2 separate regions of the Homo sapiens genome follow, and region 1 is linked to region 2. The links are contacts of gene promoters, found by promoter capture Hi-C in human tissues and cell types (Jung and others, 2019). All regions are on one chromosome and are shown on one strand. Each heading gives the region's core, a stretch centred on a gene start or on the middle of the fragment in contact. The rest is flanking DNA. Distances are from core to core; before and after follow the strand shown.

Region 1 (6,641 bases), core at 1,564-4,063, 600 kb before region 2:
ATTATGGCCGCTTTTTAGAATATGTTTTCCAAGCATCAAAATCTCTCTCTCTCTCTCTCTCACACACACACATATATATACACACACACACGCACACACTTCAAACCCACACTTGCCAGTCTGGAAGAGCACTACCGATGTGCATGTTTCTGGAAGCATTTCCTTAGCTATTGGAGGAAATGTTTACTAATATTTCAGGTTGTAGACACCAATAATTATTCTGTGAATTGGGGAGAGGGAGGGTAAAGGAAGACAGATTCCTCTTAATTTAACCCTTCCTCCCGTATCTGAGTGTGAATCCTACTTTCAGTCCCAAGTCCTAGCATGGGCCGAAAAGTTTTCATTCTTATACTGAGGAGGAGAGAGAGAGAGTTATCCATTTCTGCGAGGTTTCCTGTGTTCCCACCCCTCACTATGGAACTGGGGAAGTGATTGTTTTGTTTATCTAGACAATTCATGACTTAGTTTTGTATGGCGTTTTGAAACTAGTTTAACCTTGAAATAGGCTATATGCTTTGAGTGGTACAGTGAAATAGGCTGTGTGCTTCTCTGTTCTCAGGAAAAGGTTGTTAGAAATCACAATGTTTCTTTCTATTCAGGCAGCCTTGAGTTAGAGATGGGCATAGTATGCTATGATTATTGTGACTTTTAGTAAAGTCTGTTGCCTCTGGATGTTTACTGTCTTTGGAGAATGATAGTTTTTTAAGAAAAAAATTCAAAAGCTTAGGCAAAAAATAAGTATAGATAGGTCTAGTAAGTGATCAGTACTATTAATATTTGCTTCTACTTTCTTCACACACTCTTCTGGGGAAAGAAGCCAAAGGACTTTTTTTTTACTGTCCCCGGAATTAGTTTGTTCTATCTAGGCAGGATCCACGAGACAATCTTTTAAAATGGCGTCTGTTTTCTTATTTGGTATTTTCAGGTGGATGGCAGAATCTTTGAACTGCTAATAAGTAAGGGGATGGGGCTGAAATGAAGAGGGATCTGGTATCTTTCCTCTGTGTTCATCAATCCAGGAGATCTGAACAGGTCGTAAAGAGTTGCAGCTCCTCCTGAGGATAAAATCGCAATTATAACAATAAAAACTAACATGTGTTGAGTGCTTATTCGTTGCCAGGTGCTGTGTTGCAACCTTTATCGTCATTTTCTCATTTAATTTCCACTGCAATCCTGTGGATTAGGTACTACGATAGTTTCTCATTTTACAGAGAAGGAAAGTAAGGATTGGGAAGATTTATTTACTTGACCAAGGTTATAACAGTTGGTAAGCAGAAGAGCAAGGATCTGAAAGCAGGCAGTAAAAGAGATATCTTGAGAACTCAGGTTTATTGTATTGGATTCAGACTGGTAGTAACTAAGCTAATATTTCAGGTCTCAGTCTTGTTTTTCATAAAGAAAAGAAGAAAATATTTTCTTTTCCTGAAATGAAAGCATTTGATCAAAGGGAGATATTTGCTTTTTAAAATGTTTGTTATGAACTCCCTACCCCCATTTCGCAGATGAGAAAACTGAGAGAATGAATCCATTTAGCTACCATAGCAAAGTGCATAGCCAGGCCTTAAAACCAGAGTTGCAGATCCAGGTTCTATATCCATTCCAGTTAACCATACTGCTGAAACACAAAAAGATCCTTGGTTTTTCTGAAAATGCTAAGCAGTAGATCATTAACAGCCCGAATCCCATATTTCTCAGTGAGGAAGCTTTCTTTCACCTTAATTGTGAATACCTTTTTATACTGAAAGGATGCAAATGTGGAAATAGGGCTATTCTCAGTGGTGAATTAAATGACAAAAATGGCAAAAGACTAAAATAACTACATCAGCTTTGCTTGAAAAGCAGTTAAAGCAGTTAAAAAGATATCTGAAAGGCTCGTCTCAGTACCAATTTAGTCTTCTCCACCCCCCAAGACCCATCCTACCCTACTCCAGGAAAGCCATTCCACATTACATTTATTTCTGCTAGCTTTTGTTCACAAAGGAGTTTAACACTAACAAGATTTTGGTGCTTTTCATCTCCATTCATATATTTCTTCTTTGCAACGGTGAATGGTTACAGTAAAAATGTCAAAACAAACCTCTGGAATGAACACTTTAACAGAAAAAAATATATACAATATTAATTGACCAAAGATTTTTGACTGGCATTCACATTTTAAGACACACTTATGATGTACTGAAGTAAATTGTGGAAATTGATTTACCCTTTATGTTAAAGGTAGTTCAGGTCCAGAATATGTTTCAAAAAACGATTTTAGGGTTCCTCCATTTTCAGTAAGGCTCAAAGTATCAGAGAAAACCAGATGAACTGCCTTAAGTCACTGATTGGGCTGCAGCCCATGTCTTAGCTTTCTGGGTCATTTGTGTGCAAATTATTTGGCCACATGGCCTCCTGTCATGCTGGGGATCTGCGATTTTTCCAAAGGTTTAATTTACTTAAATATGATTGTTATTGTCAAGTTGGGATTTTTTTTTCTTCTCACCTCTCATTAAAACCCTTAGTATCAATATCAGTTTTGAACTATTATGTTATATAATGAAGCTTGCTTGTCTGTGTGAATTTATACCATAAATGCGTTCACAGATTTTTAGACCCGAAGAAGGGCTTTTTGAAATGATCTAGTCTAACCCTGTTATTTTACTGATGAATAAGTTGATGTCCTGAGAGGTAATACAGAATTCTCAAGGTCACCCATCTAGTAAGAGGAAGAATGGGAACTGGAACCCAGATTTTCTGTATTCAAGCTCTAAGACCCATGCATTCTCACAGCATCACGTCCCTACTTCTTTCATTGTGAGAGATTCAGTCACTCATTCAACAACTAGTTATTGTCATGAACTTGGCAACTGTTCTAGGCATTAGGAATTCAACAGAGGGAAAAATAAAACAATCCTGAAAAAAGGCCTTCATTTGTTGAAACATATTCTGGTGGTGGAGTGGGACAGAATCAAATGGCAGTCTTAACAGTGGCTATAAAGACATTTTATAAAGACATTTTTCTTAAAAATTACCTTTAATAGGTTATAAAATTCAAAGCAGACAAAAATATGCTGATATTCTTCTGCTTTTTCTGTTAAAGAAATTTGAGGAACTTATAATGAAACCAAGTAATGAATCACTAAATAATGAAATCGCCAAATAATGAAATCACCAACTGGAAATTAGAAGTAAATGGTCATAGCAAACCCTAACCAGGTAAGTAGAGCCCTCTCAGATGATCCATCCATGGACCAAGGAAGACTGTTTCCCAGAGTCTTCACAGGGTCTTTCTGTGAATTGGGGATTAAATGCCTTTGAGAAAACATAGACTTGTACAGGAGCTGGGATAAAGATATAAAAAAGAGATCGAAGAGGAAATTATTTAACAAGATGTTTGACATATTTTCAAATGTATATTAGACTGTCCTAGCAGATGAACCAAAGAGCAAGAGAGCACTATCTTGAGTTTAAGGCAGAAGCTTCAAGGCTTACTATAATTGGTTTTTGTGATTAACTCAACTTTTCCCTTTTAGAATATGATATACGGTAGTCTTCCCTCATCAATGGAATAATTGGTGAGGGAAAGGTATAAATAATTCAATTCTGTAAAATCTTGGGTTTTGTGATTGTGAGATGCATTAAAAACGGTGTTTTTTAAGAAAATAGAACTGGTTATTACAAAGAGAACATACACTGGGCATTGAAATGAAAAATTATCAAATGAATAGGATGTAGTAACTTCCTTAAAACTGCCACTTTCCTCACAAGAATTTTTGCCTATCAAGGTTTGGACCAATTGCCAATTGTCTTATATCCATATTTGCCACTTGAGAGGAGCACTTTTTTTTCCTAGTGTTTTACTGTATTTGACTTGGCAATGAAATGAAGCTCCCTCTCGGCAAATATACAGAATGAAACTTTTGTTAATTTGGGACAGGGGAGAGGAGGGTTTTGTCTGATATTACAAGGGGGAAAAGTGCATTTACTCCACTGAAGTTTCTTTTGTACTGTTTTCTGCCAGTTTAATTTTTATTTTCTTTGGAGTTCTGATGATATATTAATGTAACAGATATAGTTTATAATATAATGTGTTAATAGTATAATAGTTTGGCTATTTCATATTTTAGTATTTTACATGTTAGTCATGTAACACAAAACATGTAGGCAGGACTGGTTGAAAGAAACTATTAGATGATTACTACATAGCGAGGGCCACCCAAGTCCAATTCACTGCATGTGAACTGTTGAAGAAGTTTTGCAGAATTTCTCTTTCATGTTGTCAGATGTCATGTGGTGGTATCAACCAGGTAAATGATTAAGTTGGATTCTCTGGAGAGTCACTGGTATATTTCCTGCCTCCAAGCATATCTGAAACCAAGCTACAACTATAGGAAGTGTTGAATTGCAGAAATGTGGTCGAATTGTTATCTCTACTACCTGTATTATGGAGATTAGAAGTTGTAAGTAAAGAAGTCTGGGTCTTTTTCAACTTTTTTTTGCCCTGAGGCCGGCTGAAGAACTAATAGCATCCTCTCCCACCATGGTCACTGAAAAAAGTAGCAAATCTTAAATAAAGGAAAACATGAGATCTGAGATCTTTTCGATCTGCCTTAAGATTGGACAGAGTTTACGGAATAATTATGTTGAAGCTCCCAAATAATGTGAATGAGGTTATCTTTCTGAAGGGGTGAAAGGGTCTTTGTGACCCACATTCCTTTTGGAGCTAACCTGCTAAAAAAAGAAAAGCAGACAGACAGAAAGAGGAAAACAAATCCTATTTGAGATGGAGGTTGAGTGACAAGAGAAACTTTTAGCCTTCAGATATGTTTGCTCTGCACCAGGTACATAATAATATGGTTTTTGGATCTTTGAATCCATACTTAGCTAGGCATTAAATTCTAGGAATAATCTGTTTATGGAAAATAAAGCCATTTCTATTTGAAAACAAATGGAACAAAATAATTATTTTTCCCCAAATGTGTACCCTTTTAATTGATCAAATGCATCCAGGAAATTCTGCTGGCAATTTGAACACTGTAGGTGTTGTTGCAGCTCTAAATTTGTCTGCAAGAGGAATTGTAAATGGTATTTACCTTTTAATTAAACAAAGCATCTTGCAAATTAAACACATGTTCTTGCACATCAAAATTTAGTTAACATCCTTTTCATTGTTCATCCTGCTGACACTCTGACAGCATCGTGAGTCCACACACAATATAGAGTCATGCTGCTCCCCCCTTCCCTGCACTTTGCATTCCTCAGAGTAGATGATATCACATGCTAGAGTACCCTCTGTAACTGACTTCTAATAACTGAGCAGCTTTTCCCATTTAATATACTTAATATTGTGTAAAATATGGGACTGCATTGGTGTGTCCAGAACCTGGAAAGCTTTGGACACTGATCTGACATATGTCTTATAATCTTACACTGAAAATTTGACAGTGAATGACAGAACACCTTAGAGGAATATAAGAAACTGATAAAGGCAGAAGCACTGCACGTGAATGCAGAGTATGGTTTCTAATAGCTACATACTTTTTTACATGCATACCAGTAATTTGACATTTATAATTCACGGTGGAGCTGAATTTCTGTCATTTTCTTACTGTCAAGTCCTCCACATTTTGAAATAAATGTCCCTTCTAATTATTATACGAATTTGAACTCCAACATTCAATTTTTTCCCCTGTCCCTTATAATGGAGTACTACATTTAGCTGAAGTCTGATTTGCAAGACCAGTTAGGAAGTGTGATCATTTCAAACGTATTCCCACAAACTATACATGGGAACCCCTTTCTTGATTGTAGTCTGTCTTACTTATAAAAGTACAGTTTAAAACCCATCTATCAGTACTATTTCTAAGAAAATAAGGTTGCTAATGGCAGAATGAAACTGAGATAATTGGGATATGGTCTTAATGGAACAAAAGTCAGAGAGAGGTTTTTCAATAAAGCAAAATTGTCGTTAACGACTGTCATTCAGTTGCACCGGTGCTCATTAATCTCTTTTATTTCTGTTTATTTATGGTTTATATAATTGAAATAAAGTCATTTGCTTAGAACATTGCCAAAGGAGAAATGTTTCCTGCTTTGAAAAGAGACAACTCAGAATAATAGTTAAATAAAATCCAGGGTGAAATGAAGTCTTCCTTAGCATTATGGTACCTCTGAGATTTTCCTTTTAAAAGTTGAGGGATTATTTTCACTGTTAGTGTTTACTTTTAAGGTTCAGGCAGCTAGCATGTTGAAGAGATGCTACTCATGTCAGAAATTGCTTTGAGGCACAGAAATGATTGGTATGGATATGGGTGGAAGAGAGGGAGGGCAGCCCTTTAGTGTCATCTGAAAAAAGCTTTCGTTCAAAAAAATAAAATACCTCATCCTAACCAAACTTTAAAAAACAGAAGTAAATGATAAAAGTACACTTTTTGAAAATACTGACTTTTATGTTTTAAATAGGTATTTAATTATTTTCAGTGGGATGATTGTTGTTTGTTGATTAAAATAAGCTTTTATGCAAAAAAATAGGATGTCCCTTTTTGATTTCAAAAAATGAACAGAATGTGGATGATGAACACACAAATAGGACTTAGAATCATCAAACTAATTTCCCTAGATTTAGATAAGACCAAAGATTAGAGACTTTGGTTAGTCACTAA
Region 2 (6,989 bases), core at 4,312-6,811:
TCTGACATAAGGTTACTTTGTTTCTTGTCTCCTTAAAGTTAATTACTTTTTTGCAAATTCAACCATGAATTTAAAGATTCTTGTTACAGTTCTTCAGGATTGGTAGTGGAAGAATTTTAGAATTATCTGTTCTGCTAAATTCCAAGAGCTGAGAATCCCTGAATATCCTTATAAATCCTCCTTTATATTTTATTTTTCTTTAGAGTCTTACTCTGTCACCGGTCCGGAGTGCAGTAACACAATCATAGTTCAGGGCAGCCTCAAACTCCTGAGCTCAAAAGATTCTCACACCCCAGCCTCCCTAGTAGCTGAGACTACGGGCATGCACACCACCACCAACAGCTAATTTAAAAAAAGTTTTTTTTTTTTTTTTTTTTTTTTGAAGCAATGGGGTCTCCTTATGTTGCCCAGGCTGGTCTCGAATTCCTGGCCTCAAGTTACTCAAGTTATCCTTCTGCTTCAACCTCCCAAAGTGCTAGGATTACAGGCATGAGCCACCATATTTGGCCTCTTTTCTATTTTTAAAGACAACATTATGTAACATTCTTTTCAGTGAGGAGTAAATTATTTCCCACTTATTACTTACCTTGGGTAAATTACTAAACTTCTCTGTTCATCAGTCTCCTCATCTGTAAAATGGGGATGGTAATAATAGCGTCTACATCCTAAGGTGTTTGTGAAGATTAAATGAGTGCCCATGCATAAAGCACTTATAAGAGTGTCTGACTCAAGTAGACATTCACTACCTTTCACTGTTTTTTTTTTGTTTTGTTTTGTTTTTTGTTTTTTTGAGACAGAGTCTCGCTCTGTTGCCCAGGCTGGAGTGCAGTGGCGCGATATCGGCTCACTGCAAGCTCCGCCTCCCGGGTTCACACCATTCTCCTGCCTCAGCCTCCTGAGTAACTGGGACTACAGGCGCCCACCACCACGCCTGGCTAATTTTTTCTTTCTTTTTCTTTTTTTTTTTAGTTGAGACAGGGTTTCACCGTGTTAGCCAGGATGGTCTCGATCTCCTGACCTCGTGATCTGCCAGCCTCAGCCTCCCAAAGTGCTGGGATTACAGGCGTGAGCCACCACGCTTGGCCTACCTTTCACTGTTAATATTACTGATGAGCCTGTAGAGAATAAGGATACTCTGTGGGGCCTGTGACAAGTTCTGAAAGAAAATCAAAAAGACTAATGTTTTAGAGCAAAATGTGCTCTCTCTGATAGATTTAAGAAACCAGCCATTGGCTTGTTACCAGGTTTTGGCGAAGATGAGTGCGTTAGTCTGTTTTGTATTGCTATGAAGGAATACCTGAGGCTGGGTAATTTATAAAGAAGAGAGATTAATTTAGCTCACAGTTCTGAAGCCTGTACAAGCATGGCATCAGCATTTTCTTGGCTTCTGCTGAGGCCTCAGGAAGCTTACACTCATGGCAGAAGGCAAAGGGGGCACAGACAGGCATGTCATAGGACAAGAGAGGGAGTGAGCGAGAGAGAGAGATTCAGAAAAAGAGTCAGAGTGAGAGAGAGAGAGATAGGTGCTATGCTCTTTTTTTTTAAACAATCATTTCTTGTGTGAACTAATAGAGCAAGAACTCACTCACTACCACAGGGAGGGCACCAAGCCATTCATGAGAGATCCTCCCCCATGACCCAAACATCTCCCATTAGGCCCCACCTCCAACATTTGGGATCACACTTCAACATAACTTTAGGAGGGGACAAATAGCCAAACAATATCAACTAGATACATAAGCATGTGACATCAGGTGACTATGTGATCCAAGCAGCTCCTCATGAAATGGGTGCTATAATGAAAAAAATCCTAAAATTGATCCAGCCTTACTTCAGCAAGCCATGCTCATGTGGAAATGTAATATTTGAAAGTGGTCCTATAAGCATACATTGCATGAGCATTTGGCTTTTACTCTCAGCAGGTCTACCCCTATGATCTCATAGGGAGTTTTATCTGAACAGTTAACTAAGGGGTAAAAACTCCAAAGTTGGTTTACAGATGGATCTTTATCATTTGCGGGAATCAGTTAGTAGTTATTGCAGTGCAAAAGGGCAGTGGACAAGGGAAATCCTCCTCTTGGTATACAACAGTGCCCACTATGCTTCAAAGGGCAGTTAGAATGAGGCTTCTATGCTCTTTCCAGGACAAAGGCTAGAGGTTTGACTTGATGAGACTTAGAAGAAACAAGGTAGGATCTCGGGGTCAAGAAGGTTTGAGAAAATGTATGTAGGTGACTTTCTTGGAATGGCCCCAGAATAAAAGCATATTTGTATGTAGCCCACAACAATGCTCTCCAAAAAAGCCTTTTCATTTGATGAATTTATGTCATCAGAAATAAGTTTGAAAATAATGCTTATTCTCCTGTGGATGTTAATCTTACTGCTTTTCTAGAAACTCCAGTGCTTGTTCTATGGCTTCACATACCATGTGGCCATGGTGGCAGGGATTTATGCTATGCATTGGCTCAAAAATAAGGATTTCCTCTCACTAAAGGATAATTGGCTGCTTCCATTGCTCAGCACTCAGCTTGCCACAGCAACTATGCAGGACCCTTACCCTGCCACACTGGAGGATGCCATGATTTGTCTTTAGTGGAAAAGTCAAATTGGCTTTGCTTTTTCTGCTCATCAGATTTCCCTCAACACGCTCGTCCATGAACTTATTGACTGGTCTATTCCTCAGTAGATTTTGCACATTATATTTTTTTCTAACTAGTTAAATCACTTTCTAGCAAAAGAAGTAAAGCCTTTGGGCAATGCCCATGGGGTAACTTGTCTCATCACAAAACCCATTACTAGAAACAGCAGACTTCATAGATGGTGGAATTGAATATTAAAGATCCAGTTATGGTCTGAAGAGATCCCATCTGGAAAGTATAAGGGAGAGAAAGCTTTTTGACAAGATGTATATTCATGAAACCATAAATTAATGTATGATATTATTTCTCTTAAACAGGACAGGAGTGGGTAGGGCTGCTCTTAATATTATACTTGCACTCCAAGTTTTGGACTATGCTGGTTTAAAGGCTTTAGTACCCAAGTAAGAATTCTTCCATTAAAAAACCTAGTGATAGGCTGGGCACGGTGGCTTAAGCCTGTAATCCCAGCACTTTGGGAGGCCGAGGCGGGTGGATCATGCAGTCAAGAGATCGAGACCATTCTGGCCAACATGGTGAAACCCTGTCTCTACTAAAAATACAAAAAATTAGCTGGGCGTGGTGGCGCACGCCTGTAGTCCCACCTACTCAGGAGGCTGAGGCAGGAGAATCGCTTGAACCCGGGAGGCGGAGGTTGCAGTGAGCAGAGATCACGCCACTGCACTCTAGCCTCGGCGAGGGAGTGAGACTCTGTCTCAAAAACAAACAAACAAACAAACAAAAAAACCCAGTGATAGTCCCACTTAATAGGAAGCTGAGACTACAGGAGGAATAGACATACTGCTTTGGAGTTGTACTAATAATGAGTAGGTTTGGGATTATCTCCCTTTGAGGGGCTGTGAACTGCATGCTCAGGTGCTCAAAGCATGGAGGTAGGGGGAGTATGTGAAGAAAGGTAATATTAATTGGACAGCCAAAGGGGCAAATTATAGTCACGTTTTCCCTACTCTTCTTCCTCATCCTACCCCTCTTCCTATTTTTCTTGTTTTTGGTTGACAAGCATCAATATGGCCTTTCTATGTTTAGAAAATTCTCTGCCTTAGGAATTTCCATGAAACTTGGCCAGATTGGCCAAGCACACATACTCTCCAGGGTTTTAATACTAGAAAAATCAACACAGAGAAACAGGGTGATGGAGACATTTTTGTGGCAGTAATAGCAGGGAAGTTCTCAGAGGTAGCTGTGGTACTGCTGCCAGGGAAAGCAACTGGAGTCCAGTAACATCAGTGTTAATGACAATATTGACACTGGTGAAGATGGTGTGGCAACCAGTATCAGGCAATGGTAGCAGCAATGTCTGTACCACTGGTTCTGTGGCCTTGCTTTTGGCTATAATCCAAGCTGTGCAGCCTTGCTTTATTCTGCCCATTTTCTGAGCCCATTCTCTATGGTTTCTAGCAATTCTGTGAGTTACAGCATTATTAAGAATTTCCTGGTTCAGATTGCAATTAGAAAACCTTGAATCTTCCTTACTAGTCAGAATAAGCTTATCAAGGAAAAAATAAAGTCTTTTAATAACTTATATTATTTACAGAAATTAGCAGAGAGCATTTTGAGAGTACATCTGATACTGTGGTTAATACATATCAGGATCCTCAACCTGAAAATGTTATCATTTACTAAGGAATGGAAAACTTGTACATGAAACAAATACAATCTGCAAGATGGAATAAAATTAAATGCTAAATTGAGAACAGACTGTCATTTAGAAAGTCTTTCTGAAAGAGATGGGACTATATTTAATTTCTGAAGGATGGGCAGGAGATGGCATTTAAAGTACAGAAATCATCAAGCACAGAAACAAATGTGGATACTCATGGGGCAGTGACCAACCTGACTGAAGGGTGGGTGCACGTCTGAAATCAATGGGAATACATTTGAATGATTAGGAGATAATATATTATTAAGGCCTTGCCTCTAATCAGAAATAAAGATATTCTCTATTTCCCCAAATAAGGAATTCTTACATAGAGCTTAATGTATTTAAAAATTTTTAAATGGGCCTACAGAAAAGAGGTGGGGCTGACGGAAGTAAATAAAACCTGAAGATAAATTAAAGAATATATCAACGTGGGCAAAATTTTCCATTAGTTTTGGAACTTAGTTTTGTTTTTGAATAATAAGCAGTTAAATAATTAAAGCTTTGCCTTGGCAATGCAAGGACTGAAGATTATTTCTCGGTGGCAATTTTCCAGACTTGCTAGTTGTCCTTGGGTCTTGGTAACATTCTGCTCATTAACTTCAGGAAGACGTCCAGGAGTAAAGATGCATTTGAAAGTGGCTGAAAATAGTTTGTAAAGCTCAGCTTTCCTGGCTCGACAGTGAAATGACCGCACAGGCCAGTCACTGGGTCAAAAATCAATTAACAAAACGGGAAGTTTTCATGTCTTTATTTTTACATTAGCTCGAAAATCACAACCAAGAAGAAAGGCAACCACTGAATACAGGAAATACAGTATTGTTATTGCTGTTTTTTTTTTTTCTCTTGGCAAGGCTGGGTCGGGTGCCTTCCAGCCTCGCTGTGGATCCCGCGAAGTGGACGGTTCGCTTCGTGGCTTCTTCCCAGACCCCGCCACTGCGGAAACCGTCACTCGGTGGCCCCCGACTGGGTCAATGCGAGGACGCCCACCTCCTACCTTTGAGTCTCTCCTCTTCTCCAGGGTACAGCCAACCCTTTCTCCAACGTAGCCGGAGTCCGAGAGTCCCAGTTCCGCCCCTCCAGCCCGCCCCAGGCCAGGTGGGGATGCGCCCGGCCCGGGCCAGCGCTGGTCCCGGCAGTTCCGCGTCTGCGCAGCGGGCGAGGGGCTGGAGCGGGGCCGGCCGGGGAGGTGCAGGAGACGTGGGAGCCAATGGGCACGCTCGGGGGAGCCGGGCTGGCGGCGGCGGTGGCGGCCGGCTGGGCGCGCACTCTCGGGATGGAGGGCGAGCGCCGGGCATCGCAGGCGCCCTCCTCGGGCCTCCCGGCCGGGGGCGCCAACGGGGAGAGCCCGGGGGGCGGCGCCCCCTTTCCGGGCAGCAGTGGCTCTTCCGCCCTGCTGCAGGCGGAGGTGCTGGATCTGGACGAGGACGAGGACGACCTGGAGGTGTTCAGCAAGGTGAGGGCGGCGGCGGCGAGTCCCGGGAAACTTCCAAGGCAACTCCGGGCGTTGCCAGCATTGCGCCGACGGCTGCCTCTGGCGCGCTTGCCCTCCCGGGGCGGTGGCTCTGAGCTGGGGACGAGTGAGGTCCCCCGGGCTGCTGGACCCCGCCTGCCAGCTCTGGCCGCACCCGGGGCCGCGTCGCCTCGGGGCCTCAAACCGCAGCCGCTCCCTCCTCCGCACTTTGACCTTCCGTTCGGCGGGGCTGTGGCTTAGTGGAGTCTGCAAAGTTGTGATTTGTTTTCCCTTTCTGCTTCTCTGACACAGACATCTTCCTCGCGGCAGCTCCCGAACCTGGGAGGCTGGTGGCTCAAAACCGCTCCCGCCAGCTGCTTTTCGGGCGAGGCCAGCCCTGAACTCTGGGAGAGCAGCCAAGTTTAGAGAAATTATTCTTAATTTAGTGTTGTTGCTTGTGGATTTGAGACTTGGGTGAGTCTCGGGTCTTGTGGGAATAGGTTCTAGGAAATCTCCCTGAACAGGAGAAAACGGTTGTTTCTAACAGGAAGCTCCTCCGCTGAGGAGCTAAGGATTTTTCAGATGGTCAGCTACTGCCACCCAACCCACAGCCAGTGCTTTCGTTTTTCCTTGCCCCCGGGAAATTTAGGACCAAAGGCTCTTATTTGCTTATTTTACTGTTGGAGGGAAATTGACTTGTGGGGGCTAGTGGTAGACTTTTGGTACGTGTAGACTGGTGTTTGTAATTTCTTAAAGGGTTTTAGAAAAGAAAAATACCTTTCTTGCAGGGAGGTTGAATGTCACTCCAGTTTCTCAAGTTGCTGCTGAGAGAAGACCTGAGTTCAGATCACAACGCTGTATTCATTACTAAGAAGCCTGTTCATTTTAACGTTACCTGGAGATATTAGGTAAAGCAAACGACCTACTTAACCACCGCATTTACTCTGGGAGAGCAAACCAAAGTTAGGAAGTGACCATGCATACTCTGACTCCAAAGAGGAGTATATAAAACTTATTTCTACTTCGGTTTAAATGGAATGATAGGCCCAGGTTTGTATTCCGAATATTTAAACAGACTATCACAGTTTTGTGCTCTTGACTTTTCTGTTAAGTAGTAAAACAATGGAATTATTTTATGTTTAGTTGTAAACTCTGCCTTTTTATATTCCACACATACTTCATGTTCAGATCAACGACAGTTGGCCAGTTGGTTATTTACTTTCTTTCCTTCTTTACATTG

The links. Contacts are between HindIII fragments. The study calls those that stand out against the background at their distance.
Region 1: a contact is called between a fragment that was not itself captured here and the fragment with the promoter of SNX7 in region 2, in 1 of the 25 tissues and cell types used here (dorsolateral prefrontal cortex).

Annotation. Positions count from the first base shown.
Region 1 is chr1:98,054,604-98,061,244 of GRCh38, forward strand. All of the region lies in intron 1 of LOC124900404 (a long non-coding RNA gene), which reads left to right. Among named protein-coding and RNA genes, the nearest start is that of MIR137HG, 8.2 kb to the left of the region's middle. The HindIII fragment of the contact is 3,202 bases long and covers 1,213-4,414 here.
Region 2 is chr1:98,656,160-98,663,148 of GRCh38, forward strand. SNX7 (sorting nexin 7) reads left to right here and starts at 5,562. Exons shown (of 9, transcript NM_015976.5): 1 at 5,562-5,752. The coding sequence starts at 5,573. SNX7-DT (SNX7 divergent transcript) reads right to left here and starts at 4,613. Exons shown (of 1, transcript NR_189290.1): 1 at 4,148-4,613. RefSeq lists silencers at 5,364-5,503, 5,524-5,643, 5,874-5,943. The HindIII fragment of the contact is 3,254 bases long and covers 4,471-6,989 here.